2 separate regions of the Homo sapiens genome follow, and region 1 is linked to region 2. Evidence: promoter capture Hi-C in human tissues and cell types (Jung and others, 2019). All regions are on one chromosome and are shown on one strand. The core of a region is centred on a gene start or on the middle of the fragment in contact, and the rest is flanking DNA. Distances in the headings are between cores, read along the strand shown. Region 1 has its middle 40 kb from the start of LINC01795. Region 2 holds the start of FANCL (FA complementation group L).

Region 1 (6,756 bases), core at 2,052-4,551, 74 kb before region 2:
GGGGATATGATGGCTTAGTTTGGGCTCAGAGGCCTGACATTCCTGTCTTCTTATATTAATAAGAAAAATAAAATGAAATAGTGGTAAAGTGTTGGGACAGCAAAAATTTTGGGGGATGGTATGGAGAGATAACGGGCGATGTTTCTCAGGGCTGCTTCGAGCGGGATTAGGGGCGGCGTGGGAACCTAGAGTGGGAGAGATTAAGCTGAAGGAAGATTTTGTGGTAAGGGGTGATATTGTGGGGTTGTTAGAAGGAACATTTGTAATTTAGAATTATTGGTGATGGCCTGGATACAGTTTTGTATGAATTGAAAAACTAAATGGAATAAGAGAAGGAGAAAAACAGGTATAAAAGGTCTAACAACTGGGACGACTCAGGACATCTGATTAGAGAGTGCCTAAGGACATTCAGCATAGTCCTGCCAGCAAAGATTATTTATTTACTTCAAGAGTTTAGAGTGGCAGTTTGGGGATAGCACGAGGAGATATCAGCTGTGATGGCTTGGAGAAACAGTGTAAACCGGCAGTGTAAACAAGAGCAGGGCATGTATGAGTAGTTGAGAACGGTGAATAGGAGTATGACTAGACAGAAGATAGTAGGGATGACAAGTTTTTTTTGGGGCACGGTCTAAGTTGGTCTGGTGTCTGGAATGAGACTGGGGCCTAATAAAAAGGAGCGTCTACACAGGAGCTCAAATGGGCTGTACCTTGTAGCATTCTGAAGACAGGTCTGACTTCTGAGAAGGGAAAGTCGTAAAAGTATTGTCCAGTCCTTTTTAAGTTGGTGGCTGAGCTTGGTGAGGTGTGTTTTTAAAAGACCTTTAGTCCATTCTACTTTTTCTGAAGACAGAGGACCGTAAGGGATATAAAGGTTTCACTGAATACTGAGAGCCTGAAAAACTGCTTGGCTGATTTGATTAATAAAGGCTGGTCTGTTATCAGACTGTATAGAGGTGGGAAGGCTAAACTGAGGAATTATGTCTGACAGAAGGGAAGAAATGACTGTGGTGGCCTTCTCAGACCCTGTAGGAAAGGACTCTACCTATCCAGTGAAAGTGTCTACCTAGACTAAGAGGTATTTTAGTTTCCTGACTCGGGACATGTTGAGTAAAGCTAATTTGCCCGTCCTGGGTGGGGGCAAATCCTCGAGCTTGATGTGTAGGGAAGGGAGGGGGCCTGAATAATCCCTGAGGAGTAGTAGAATAGCAGATGGAACACTGAGAAGTTATTTCCTTGAGGATAGATTTCCATGATGCAAAGGAAATGAGAGGTTCTAAGAGGCGGGCTAGTGGCTGGTACTATAGCATAGCCTGCCTTTTCTGGTGTGTGGCGATTAGGCCTGGTGGAACTGCCATCAATAAATCAAGCGTGATCAGGGTGAGGGACAGGAAAGAAGGAAATATGGGGAAATGGGGTGAATATCAGGTGGATCAGAGAGATACAGTCATGGGGGTCAGGTGTGGTATCAGGAATAATGTGGGAGGCCAGATTGAAGTCCGGGCCAGAAACAATGGTAGTTGTGGGACTTAAAGAGTGAGTTCAGCTGAAGGAGCTGGGGAGCAGAAAGTATATGCGTCAGGTATGAGGAAGAAAATAGATTTTGGAAGTTGTGAGAAATGTAGAGAGTAAGTTGAGCATAGTTTTTGATTTTGAGGGCCTCTAAAAGTATTAGGGCGGCAGCAGCCGCTGCACAGAGACATGATGGCTAGGCTAAAACAGTAAGGTCAAGTTGTTTGGACAGAAAGGCTACAGGGTGCGGTCCTGGCTCTTGTGTAAGAATTCTGACTGCACTAACCATGCCTAGGAAGGAAAGGAGTTGTTTTGTAAGGGATTGAGGTTTTGGAGATTAATCGGACATGATCAGCAGGGAGAGCACGTGTGTTTTTATGAGAATTATGCCAAGATAGGTAACAGATGAGGATGAAATTTGGGCTTGACTGAAGTAATGGGGGCTGTCTGTGAAGCCTTGCGGCAGTACAGCCCAGGTAATTTGCTGAGCCTAATGGGTGTCAGGGTCAGTCCAAGTGAAAGCGAAGAGAGGCTGGGATGACGGGTGCAAAGGAATAGTAAGGAAAGCATGTTTGAGATCCAGAACAGAATAATGGATTTGGAGGGAGGTATTGAGGATAGGAGAGTATATGGGTTTGCCACCATGCGGTGGATAGGCAAAACAATTTGGTTGATAAGGCATAGATCCTGAACTAACTTGTAAGGCTTGTCTGGTTTTAGGACAGGTAAAACGGGGGAATTGTAAGGAGAGTTTATAGGCCTTAAAAGGTCATGCTGTAGCAGGCGAGTGATAACATGCTTTGAAAGGATTAAAGCCTTTCAAAGCATGTTGTGGGATGGGATATTGGCATTGATCAGGGTAAGGGTGATTAGGTTTTAATGAGATGGTAAGGGGTGCTTGATCGGTCGCCAAAGAGGGAGTAGAGGTATCTTACACTTGTGGGTTGAGGTAGGGGAATACAAGAGGAGGACGCAAAGGAGGCTTTGGATTGGGAAGAAGGGCGGCAATGAGATGTAGCTGTAATCCAGGAATAGTCAGGGAAGCTGATAATTTAGTTAAAGTGTCTCGGCCTAATAAGGAAACTGGGCAGGTGGGGATAACTAAAAGGAGTGCTTAAAAGAGTATTGTCTAAGTTGACACCAGAGTTGGGGAGTTTTAAGAGGTTTAGAAGCCTGGCTGTCAATACGCACAACAGTTATGGAGGTAAGGGAAACAGGCCCTTGAAAAGAAGGTAATGTGGAGTGAGTAGCCTCGGTATTGATTAAGAAGGGGACAGACTTACCCTCCACTGCGAGTTACCCGAAGCTCGGCGTCCGTGATGGCCTAGGGGGCTTCCGAGGTGATCGGGCAGCGTCAGTCTTCAGCCGCTAAGCCAAGAAGATCTGGGAAGGAGTCAGAGAACCTTGGGCCAGAGTTCCAGGGGCTTTGGGAGTGGCTGCCAGGTGAGTTGGACAGTCCGATTTCCAGCGGGGTCCCGCACAGATGGGACACAGCTTAGGAGGAATCCTGGGCTGCAGGCATTCCTTGGCCTGGTGGCCAGATTTCTGGCACTTGTAGCAAGCTCCTGGGGGAGGAGGTTCTGGAGGAATGCCTGGCCACTGCAGTTCAGGCGTTTGGAAGTTCTTGTGTGCTGGAGATGTGGCTGGGGTTTGTCTCACAGTGGAGGCAAGGAATTGCAACTTTTTTCTATTATTGTACACCTTGAAGGTGAGGTTAATTAAATCCTGTTGTGGGGTTTGAGGGCCGGAATTTAATTTTTGGAGTTTTATTTAATGTCAGGAGCAGAAGAATTGGGACCTAGCAGAAGAATTGGGACTGAGGGGACAGGTGGGAGGGAAAGAAGCAAGATTTGGGATGAGTTGCATTGGGAACAGAGACTAGAGAGTGACAGATGTGTAAAAGAATGCCTGGACGTCAGGCACCTCAGACCATTTGCCCGTTTTACGACAAGAATTATTTAGATCTTGTAGGATGGAAAAATTGAAAGTGCCATTTTCCGGCTATTTGGAACTACTTTTGAGTTTGTATTGGGGTCAAGCGGAATTGCAGAAGAAAGTAAGACGCTTAGATTTTAGGTCAGGTGAGAGTTGAAGAGGTTTTAAGTTCTTAAGAACACAGGCTAAGGGAGAAGAAGGAGGAATGTAAGGTGGAAGCTTGCCTATAGTGAAGGAGGCAAGACCAGAGAAAAGAGTAGAGACACGGAGAAGGGGTGGGGGGTTCTTGCCCTCCAGAAAAGCAGAGAAGGGGTCGGGGCACAGAGATACAAGGTCAGGGCATGGAAATAAGGGATCAGGGTGCAGAGATATAAGAGGTCGGGGCGTGGAAATAAGGGATCGGGGCACAGAGATACGAGGTTGGGGTACTTGCCCCTCCTCTAGAAAAGCGGGAGTTGCCACTCAGGGTGAAGGAGAAGGGGTTGGGGGTTTCTTGCCCCCCAGAAAGGCAGAGAAGGGGTAGAGACATGGAGAGAAGGGATTGGGGTACTTGCCCCTTCCCCCAGAAAAGTGGGACTTGCTGCTAAGGGTGAAGGACCAAGGCAGGTGTCCCTGCGTGGTCTGACACCTCTGAAACCTGGGTGAATAATCAGAGAGGCATCCCTGCAAAGGTTAAACACCAAGGGAAGGCTGCCTTCCCTAGTCCATGACCGGTGCCGGAGTTTTGGGTCCACGGATAAAACGTGTCTCCTTTTTCTCTACCCGAAAAATGAAAGGAATTGAAATTAAGAGAAGGGAGAGATTGAAGAGTGGAAAGGAGAAAGTGGTTGAGGGACAGTGAGAGAGGTTGGAGAAGAGAGTAAGAAGAGGCCGCTTACCCGATTTAAAATTGGTGAGATGTTCCTTGGGCTGGTCGGTCTGAGGACCTGAGCTTGTAGGTGGATCTTTCTCATGGAGCAAAGAACAGGAGGACAGGGGATTGATCTCCCAAGGGAGGTCCGCCGATCTGAGTCACGGCACCAAATTTCATGCGCGTCTGTGTGAAGAGACCACCGAACAGGCTTTGTGTGAGCAACATGGCTGTTTATTTCACCTGGGTGCAGGCAGACTGAGTCCGAAAAGAGAATCAGCGAAGGGAGATAGGGGTGGGGCCATTTTATAGGATTTGGGTAGGTAAAGGAAAAAGGGGTGTTGTTCTCTGGTGGGCAGGAGTGGGGGTCACAAGGTACTCAGTGGGGGAGCTTTTGAGCCAGGATGAGCCAGGAAAAGGAATTTCACAAGACAGTGTCATCAGTTAAGGCAGGAACAGGCCATTTTCACTTCTTTTGTGGTGGAATGTCATCAGTGGAATGTCATCGATCTGGATGTGTATGTCTAGGTCACAGGGGATATGATGGCTTACCTTGGGCTCAGAGGCCTGACACTCTGTGAAAAGGGATAATAATTGGGCCATTCTTGTCATACTCAACTAAAACAGAGTGGAGAATCCAGGTGGCAAAAGCCCTCAGGGCACATGATGCTGCTCCAAGAATTTAATTCTCTGCAAGACTGGCTGCTGAAACTGCTTGCTGTAACTTGAAACCAGTTTTATTTACTGGTTTCTGAAATAAACTGTTGCAACTCTAAGCCCCCTTTTACCCACCACCACCACTTGCCAGCTCTCGAAAACTTTACTAGTGCCATTGAACTTTCTGGAGAAACAATATCTAACATTTCTTCTTTTCCTGGAATTTCCAACCTTCTCTTTGTTCTTCCGACATACTGAAGACCACCTCATGAGATCTGGTTGTTTAAAAGTGTGTAGCATCTCTCCTCTCTCTCTCTTCCTCCTAGCTCCAGCCATGTGAGACATCTCACCCCCTCTTTGCCTTTTGCTATGATTGTAAGTTTCCTGAGAGCTCCCCAGAAGCTGAGCAGATGATGCCATGTTTCCTGTACAACCTGCAGAACTGTGAGCCAATTAAACCTCTTTTTTTTTTAGAATAAGTTTTGCTCTGTCACCCGGGCTGGAGTGCAGTGGCACAATCTCAGCTCACTGCAACCTCCGCCTCCTGGGTTCAAGTGATTCTCCTGCCTCAGCCTCCCAAGTAGTTGGGATTACAGGCACCCGCCATGACACCTGGCTAATTTTTGTATGTTTAGTAGAGACGGGTTTCACCATGTTGGCCAGGTGGGTCTTGAACTCCTGACCTCAGGCAATCCGCCCACCTTGGCCTCCCAAAGTGCTGGGATTACAGGTGTGAGCCACCACCCCTGGCCTAAACCTCTTTTCTTTATAAATTATTCAGTCTCAGGTATTTCTTTATAGCAGTGTGAGAATGGCTTAACACATCTTGTAAACCAGAAATCAAATTCTAAGCCCCAAAACCAACTGAATAGACCCCTTCCCTCAGCCAAGGGGATTCCAAAGTAAACCTGAAAATCTAGTTCAGGCCATGATGGGATGTAGGGGTTGGACATGCTTCATTATACTCTCCTCCCTTTGGAATTCAGGCACAGCTGACCAGCATTAGCATTAAAACAGAAATCTTAAGACTGACAAAACAGACTTTGTAGCAATAAGATACCAAATTTCAACCTGACTCTAGCATAGCATCCCATGACAGACTGCAAGCCCTGGAAGAAGTTATTTTACCCCAATATATATTTCTTTGACATATTTTAAAATGGCCCTGCAAAGCTGTCTCTTGTGGGAGAAATTTGCATTCTGTAGAGAACCCCCTTCCCTTTCCAGATCTTTTTTTGATCCTGAAGAGATTAGCTAAGAATCTAACACATTTGAAAGGTTTAAATACAAACCATTTGCCACCTATTCCCTCTAAGCCACCTGCGAGACGTCATCTACTGAATAAGAACCTTGTTGTCCACAACCCCTTATCTTATCCAGACATTCCTTCTATTGATTCCAAGTCTTTAGATAATAACTCAATGCTTTCAACTAATTGTCAATCAGAAAGTCTTTGAATGCACCTATGACCTGAAAACCCCTGCTTCGAGTTGTCCCTACTTAACAGACTAAATCAATGTATACCCTACATGTATTGGCTGAGGTTTGCCTGTAACTTCTGTCCCCCTTAAAATGTATAAAATCAAGTTTTTTTTTTTTTTTTTTTTTTTTTTTGAGACGGAGTCTCGCTCTGTTGCCCAGGCCGGACTGCGGACTGCAGTGGCGCAATCTCGGCTCACTGCAAGCTCCGCTTCCCGGGTTCACGCCATTCTCCTGCCTCAGCCTCCCGAGTAGCTGGGACTACAGGCGCCCGCCACCGCACCCGGCTAATTTTTTGTATTTTTAGTAGAGACGGGGTTTCACCT
Region 2 (6,661 bases), core at 540-3,039:
TTAATCTTTGTGTTGATCCCACTTTTGCACAGCCTCTACTTTATTCTTATAGGAAAACATGTAGCATGGCCGTCCTTAATTACCGAGTTGCAAAATAAAGCAGGTGTTATGTCCTGCCCCTGCAGAGATCCTCAAACCTTAGCATGCATCAGAATCACCTGGAGAGCTTGTTAAAACGCAGACTGCTGAGCCCTATTGCCAGTGTTTGGGATTCCCGAGGTTTGAAATAGGGGCCTGTAGGGAATGAGAAACATCTTTCTTTCCTGTTGCTAGATTCCTGTTTGAGTCCCTTATAAGAAAAGACAGATTAATAAGAGAAAAGCGTGCAAATTTATTTAAGTTTTATGTGGCATGGGAGCCTTCAGAGATGAAGCCCAAAGAAACAGGAAAACCTGTGCATTTTTAGAAGGAACAGTGGACAGTTGTGGGGAAGTACGGTTGGACAAAGCATGGTCTAATGGTAATAAACTGGGGTAAGTTGTCAAAGGTCTTTTTGTTCAGATTCTTTTCTATGTCTCCGTTTCTTTAGAGATAAGGATATTTCTTTCCTGTGGGTATAGGAAGAGCACCTCTGGATTGAGGATCCAATGACCCGCCTCAGGGAAGAAGGATGGGAGAAGGTCAGAGAGTGATCTTAGGTTTTGTTGTTTTCTCAAATGTCAAGGGGCCATATTTTGGGGTAGCATATCCTGAACCCCATCAGCGGTGAAAACTTGTATTTCTACATAGTTCCCAGGTGATGCTGTTGCTAGGTTCTAGGATCACGTTTTGAGAACCACTGCTTTAATGTAATTTATATCTAACCACTGCTCCAGCATTCTTTTCTGTAAGCATCCAGAATGCTGTGACAAATTCTTGTCAAACTTTAAGAATCTTCAGGATGTCAAATTCTGTCTTGAGGTCAATAAAGATGGGTAGGGGACGAAATAATCTTTGCTCAACCTTTGGCACATTACAATGATGTTTTTCAAATAGTAGGGCTCAAACGTGATGCATTGGAAAATTGGAAAATTGGAAAATCAAATAATCATATGGTAAATATTTTAGTAGGTTTCTTATTTAATCAACTCTTAATAAGATGGGATGGATAACATTCCTGAGTTAGAAAAACATATTGCAAGCGCTGTCAGAGGAAAATTAAGTTCAAGTCCATCAGCAATCTTTACTCATGTTTTGCTTTATATATTTGTGAGTGCCGTACACAGAACTGAGTCCAGTGTTGACTTGAGTCTAATCAATACACATATACGTATACATGTGTGTGCCTCAAATATATCTGATTGAACTTAGTAAGCCACAGAACTGTAATATATATGATATAATCAATGTGTTATACATTATATTACAATAATTATACACAAAATAATACATTATTCTGTATGTTAAGGGAGAGAGGACAACAGCAAAGAAGACAGAGTGCTACAACGTCCAGGCTGTAAAAGTCATTTTATTCTGGAGGAAATGCAACACCAAAGTTGTAACAGTCTTTCAATAAAGTAAAACAGAATCATCGAAAGGGCTCCTGGGACAATTGAGGCTAGAATGATCTTGGTCAGTCAGTCCTGTGGACTTGAGGGCAATCTTCCCTCCCACTACCGGTTGGGGAGCCCTGATGTCGCCTCCCGCAGAGCGCCACTTGGCCTGGCCTGCGCTTCACCTTCATTTCCGCCCGCGGAATCCTCCAGGATCTTCCCGCCAAGGCTGGGGTTTCCGCTCCGCGGCGTCCGAGCGCCAGCGGACTGCGCATGTGCAGGACCCAGCAGGTCTAGAGCTTTTCTGTGTTTCTCCGGACTTCGAGCCATGGCGGTGACGGAAGCGAGCCTGTTGCGCCAGTGCCCCCTGCTTCTGCCCCAGAACCGGTCGAAAACCGTGTATGAGGGATTCATCTCGGCTCAGGTACCCGCCCAGTGGTTGCTTTCTAGCTAAGAGAGCCTCTTGCAGCGTAGCTGCGCGGAGAAGTCTGTGACGGGCTAGGAGGTTAGGGGCCCAGACTTGTGGGGATTGAGAGGGGCGGCGCGTAACGGCTCTTGGGAGACTAAAGGTTTGAGAAGCGCCGCTGTCGCCGCCACCCCGGTGGTCGCCGCGCTGGATGGGGAGCGAGGAGGCGCGCGGCGTGGAGCGGGGCTGGGGCCACGCCTCCTCTCTCCCTAGCCCTTCCCCGAGTTTGGCTTCCTTCTTCGTTCAGTGTCCCGCAATTGACTGTTTTTTAATTTTTTTTTTGTAAATTTTGCCTTAACTCGATTTTAACACCCTCCACCTCCACGGATGTTGATGAGTTCACTCGGGAATCTGGGCTAATTATTTTCGTGTTTCCTGTAGAAAGAACATTTGGGAAGAAAACCTTATTTTGGCCCTTTGCCAAGTCGTATGTACCTGTACACCCACAGTTACAATATCTTCTAGGAGAAGCATGACAGCAATGGAATTAATTAACTTTGCTGATTCCAGTGGCCTCTCATATGGAGTTTATTACACATACTAACACATGTGTAGGGTTTTGAAGTTTACAAAGCGCTTTCCAGGTAAATAGTTCACTTAATCCTCAGCCCTTTGAGGCAGAAATTTTTAAAAGAATCATCATTCCCATTTTCTAGTTGAAGAAATCAAGGTATGGGAAACCGGAGACGTTATTTGCTGATGATCACATCAGAATCCCTTAAACGCAGGCTGTGTGATTTCAGTCCTGGATTTTTTTCTCTTTACATTGCACCAGGATACCTTAGGTTAGGAGTGTAGACTTTTCCTTTCTGACCATTACACTCAACCTTGTGCCCACTTCCCCACCATCACGCATAGTCTTTGAGTATATGTGGAATTACCATATGACCATCACAGAAAGTAGAGGTTAAAAATTCATTATTCCATATGGAAAAAAGTTAATCCACCTTTCCCTCTCCAATTAGAAGTATTCTTCTTGAATTACCTAGCTGAAAATATGATTCTCTTGTAGACAACATTTAGAAAAGTTGAAAAATTTTAAGTTACTTTTTTTTTTTTTTTTTTACAGGAAGCATGTTATACCTAATTTTAGGCAAAATACTGTTATGTATGTCTATATCTGCTAAGGCCTTTTAGGAAACAAGTACACCCATTAGAATTGAGATTAGATGAAAGTTTCTTTTATGACCATTGCTATAGCTAGAATTCCAATTTGTACCTGCCTTAGCAGTTTATTTAAATCTTAAACATTTTACGTGTCTAAAAATATTTTGTATATATTTTAAATTTACAGAAAAGTAGCAAGGATATACAGTACAAGTAATTCCAGTATACCCTTTACCTAGATTCACCAGTTTACATTTTCTCCATTTTACTGATCATTGTTAAGTATATGTATGTGGGTGGGTGTGTATACACATTATTTTCCTGAACCATTTGAGGTCAAATCAGGCGTAGTTCCCCTTTATCCCTAAATACTTGAGCATACATTTCATAAGAACGAGGACACACTCATACATAACCACAGTACAGTGATTAAAATCAGGATATTTAATGATATACTATTATCTAAGATAGAGTCCATATTTCAAATTTTGTTTATGATACAGTTGTATGTTTTATACCCCCATCCCCTACCATCTGTTGTTAAGATCCCACATTACATTTAGTTGTCATGTCTAACCTGGAACAATTCTCAGTCTGTTTGTGTTTTTTATAAGCTAGACATTTTTAAAGAGTACAGATTGGCTGTTAGGTAGAATGTATCTCAATTTGGGTTTGGATGATATTTCCTCACTATTAAATTCAGCTAATGCATTTTTGGCAGGGATACTACAGAAAGATTGTTTTGTCCTTCTCAAGGCTTGTGAGGTTACCTGGTTGGTTCCATTATTAATGATGTTAACTTTGATCACCTGGTTAAGGTATCATCTGTCAGAGTCTCCTTTTGTAATTAATAAGTACTTTTGGGGAGGTACTCTGAGGCATCAAACTTTCACACACATTCTCTGGTTTTAGCGTCCATTGACTTTTGCTTGAGTCGACTATTACTATCACGGTTGCCAAATGATGATTTTCTAACTCTTGTCATTTCTATATTTATGAAGTGGCAATTCATTATAAGGAGTAGCATTGCCTGCTTTCTCATTTATTTAATTATATTAGAATGGATGCATGGACTTTTAAAAAAATTACTTGATTATAATCATTATTTATTTTGATCCTCGAATTGTCCCAGATTTGGCCAGTGAGCAGGTTTTATGTATGTAAGTTTTTAAGGCTTTGCATTTCCTCTCATCAGTGTTTTAAAAGTATCCTATAGATGCTGACATGTAGCCTTATAACCACCATTTTTAGAAGCTATATGATGTCAATTTACTATGCACCTTAATAGGTTGTAAAAATTTTCTCGTGGAAGGTCCTTTTTGGTTTTTAATTTTGTTGCTGATTTCTAATTTTTCTTGTATTGTAATTAGACAGTATTGTTTATAAAAAAGTCTCCATGGAACTTACTGGTACTTTTTCCTGTGACCTAATATGTAATCAGTTTTAGGTGTTGTCTCTATTATCAGATTTTCTCTTTCCTTTTGAGTGAGCTTTGGTAGTTTGTGTCTTTCAAGGAATTTGTTAGTTTCATCTAGGTTTCTGATTTTATTGGCTTAAAGTTATTTACAATAATCCCTTATTATCCTTTTAATGTCTTTAGGATCTGTAATGATGCTCTCTATGTTGGTTATCTTTTGCTGCTATTTACTTCAAACCTTAGTGGCTTAAAACAAAAACAATTATTGTCTCACTGTTTCTGTGGATTTGAAATTTGCGAACAACTTGGATGGTAGTTCTTGATCAAAATCTCTCATGATCTTGCAATCAAGATATTTGCCAAGACTTTGATGGTCTAAAACAGGGTGTCCAATCTTTTGGCTTCCCTGGGTCACATTGGAAGAAGAAGAATTGTCTTGGGCACACATAAAATACACTAATGATAGCTGATAAGCTAAAAAAAAATCACAAAAAATCCCATAATGTTTTAAGAAAGTTTATTAATTTGTGTTGGGCTGCATTCAGAGCTGTCCTGGGCTGCCAGTTGGTCAAGCTAGAGGTGGAGGATTTGCTTCCAAGATTGCTCATTCACATAGCTATTGGCCATGAGGCCTCAGTTTGTTACTGCTCTTAACAGGAGGCCTTAGTTCCTCACCACATGGATCTTTATAGTGTTGCTTGACTGTTATCACACATGGCAGCTAGCTTCTCCTGAGTGTATGATACAACAGAGAGATCAATAAAGATGCACATTCTCTTTAATCTCTTAGTCTCTGAAGTCACACACATTTACTTCTGCTTTATTGTGTTAGATGCAAGTTTCTTAGTCTATATTCAAAAGGAGGGAAATTAGGCACCAACTCCTAGAGGTAGGAGTGTCAAATAATTTATGGATATACGTTAAAAATAGCTTTCATCCTCATATCTGATGTAGGTAATTTATGTCTCATTTTTTCCCCCGATACATCTAGATAGAGGTTTATAAATTTTACTGATTTCTTCAAAGAACCTGTCTTTAATTTCTTCAATTTTTTTCTATTATTTTTATGTTTCTATATGATAGTTTTCTGATCTTAAGTTTCCTGATTTCTTTAGATGGAAGATTATTGATATGAGATCTTTCTTCTATTCTAGTACAGATATTTAGTGCTTTAAATTTTCTTTTGAATACTGGTTTAGCTATATCACACACATTTTGGTGTGCTGTAGTTTTGTTTTTATTCAGTTCCAAATGCCTTTTAATTTCTTCTTTGATCTATGGCTCACTTAGAATTATGATTATCTTTCTCAATATTAAGGATTTTCTAGATATCTTTTTGTTATTGATTTATAATTTAGTTTCATTTTGGTCACAGAATATAACTTGTATGATTTAAATTTTTAAAATATTTATTGAGCCTTAATTTTATGACCAATAATATAGTCTATCCTGGTGAATATACTGTGTGTACTCTAAGAGAATGACTATTCTGTTGCTATTGGGTAGAGTATTATATAAATGCCAGTTAGGTCAAATTGGTTCAGAGTGCTACCCAGGCCCTTATTGGGTAGCACTGTGCTCACTGACTTTTTTGTCTGCTTTTTCTATCAGTTAGTGAGAGGGGGTGTTGAAATCTCCAACGATCTTTGTTGATTTTTCAATTTCTATTTAATTTCTATCAGTTTTGCTTCATATATTTTGAAGTTCTGTTATTAGGTCCATAAACTTTTAGAATTGTTAAGCACTCTTTATGAATTGACTCCTTTAGGATTATGAAATGACCTTTTTTATCTTTAGTAATAATGTTTTCTCTGAAATCTGTATTTTCCAATATTAACATATAGATTGCATCTTTCTTTTGATTGATGTTACCATGGTTTATCTTTACTTCTTTATTTTAAACTTATTTGTGTTTTAATATTTAGTGTGTTTCTTCTGTGCTTTGCTTTGTTATGCAATATGATAGTCATTGCCTTTTACTTGGGGGTGCTTCGACTATTTACATTTAACGTGGTTATTCATATGGTTGGATTTAAATCTACTCTTGCTGTGTGTTTTCTGTTTGTCTTACATATTTTTAATTGTTTTGGTATTTTTCTGTATTTTATATTATTGGAATTCTTTTTTGTAATTCTGTTTTATCTCCTTTGCCAGTTTATTGGCTGTGTGTGTGTGTGTTTTTTTTTTAACTAGTTGCTT

What was found. Contacts are between HindIII fragments. The study calls those that stand out against the background at their distance.
Region 1: a fragment that was not itself captured here is called in contact with the fragment with the promoter of FANCL in region 2 in 2 of the 25 tissues and cell types used here (H1 embryonic stem cells and neural progenitor cells).

Annotation. Positions count from the first base shown.
Region 1 is chr2:58,312,280-58,319,035 of GRCh38, reverse strand. No RefSeq gene overlaps it. Among named protein-coding and RNA genes, the nearest start is that of LINC01795, 40 kb to the right of the region's middle. The HindIII fragment of the contact is 6,088 bases long and covers 258-6,345 here.
Region 2 is chr2:58,236,453-58,243,113 of GRCh38, reverse strand. FANCL (FA complementation group L) reads left to right here and starts at 1,789. Exons shown (of 14, transcript NM_018062.4): 1 at 1,789-1,896. The coding sequence starts at 1,801. RefSeq lists an enhancer at 1,442-1,601 and a silencer at 2,142-2,191. The HindIII fragment of the contact is 14,155 bases long and covers 1-6,661 here.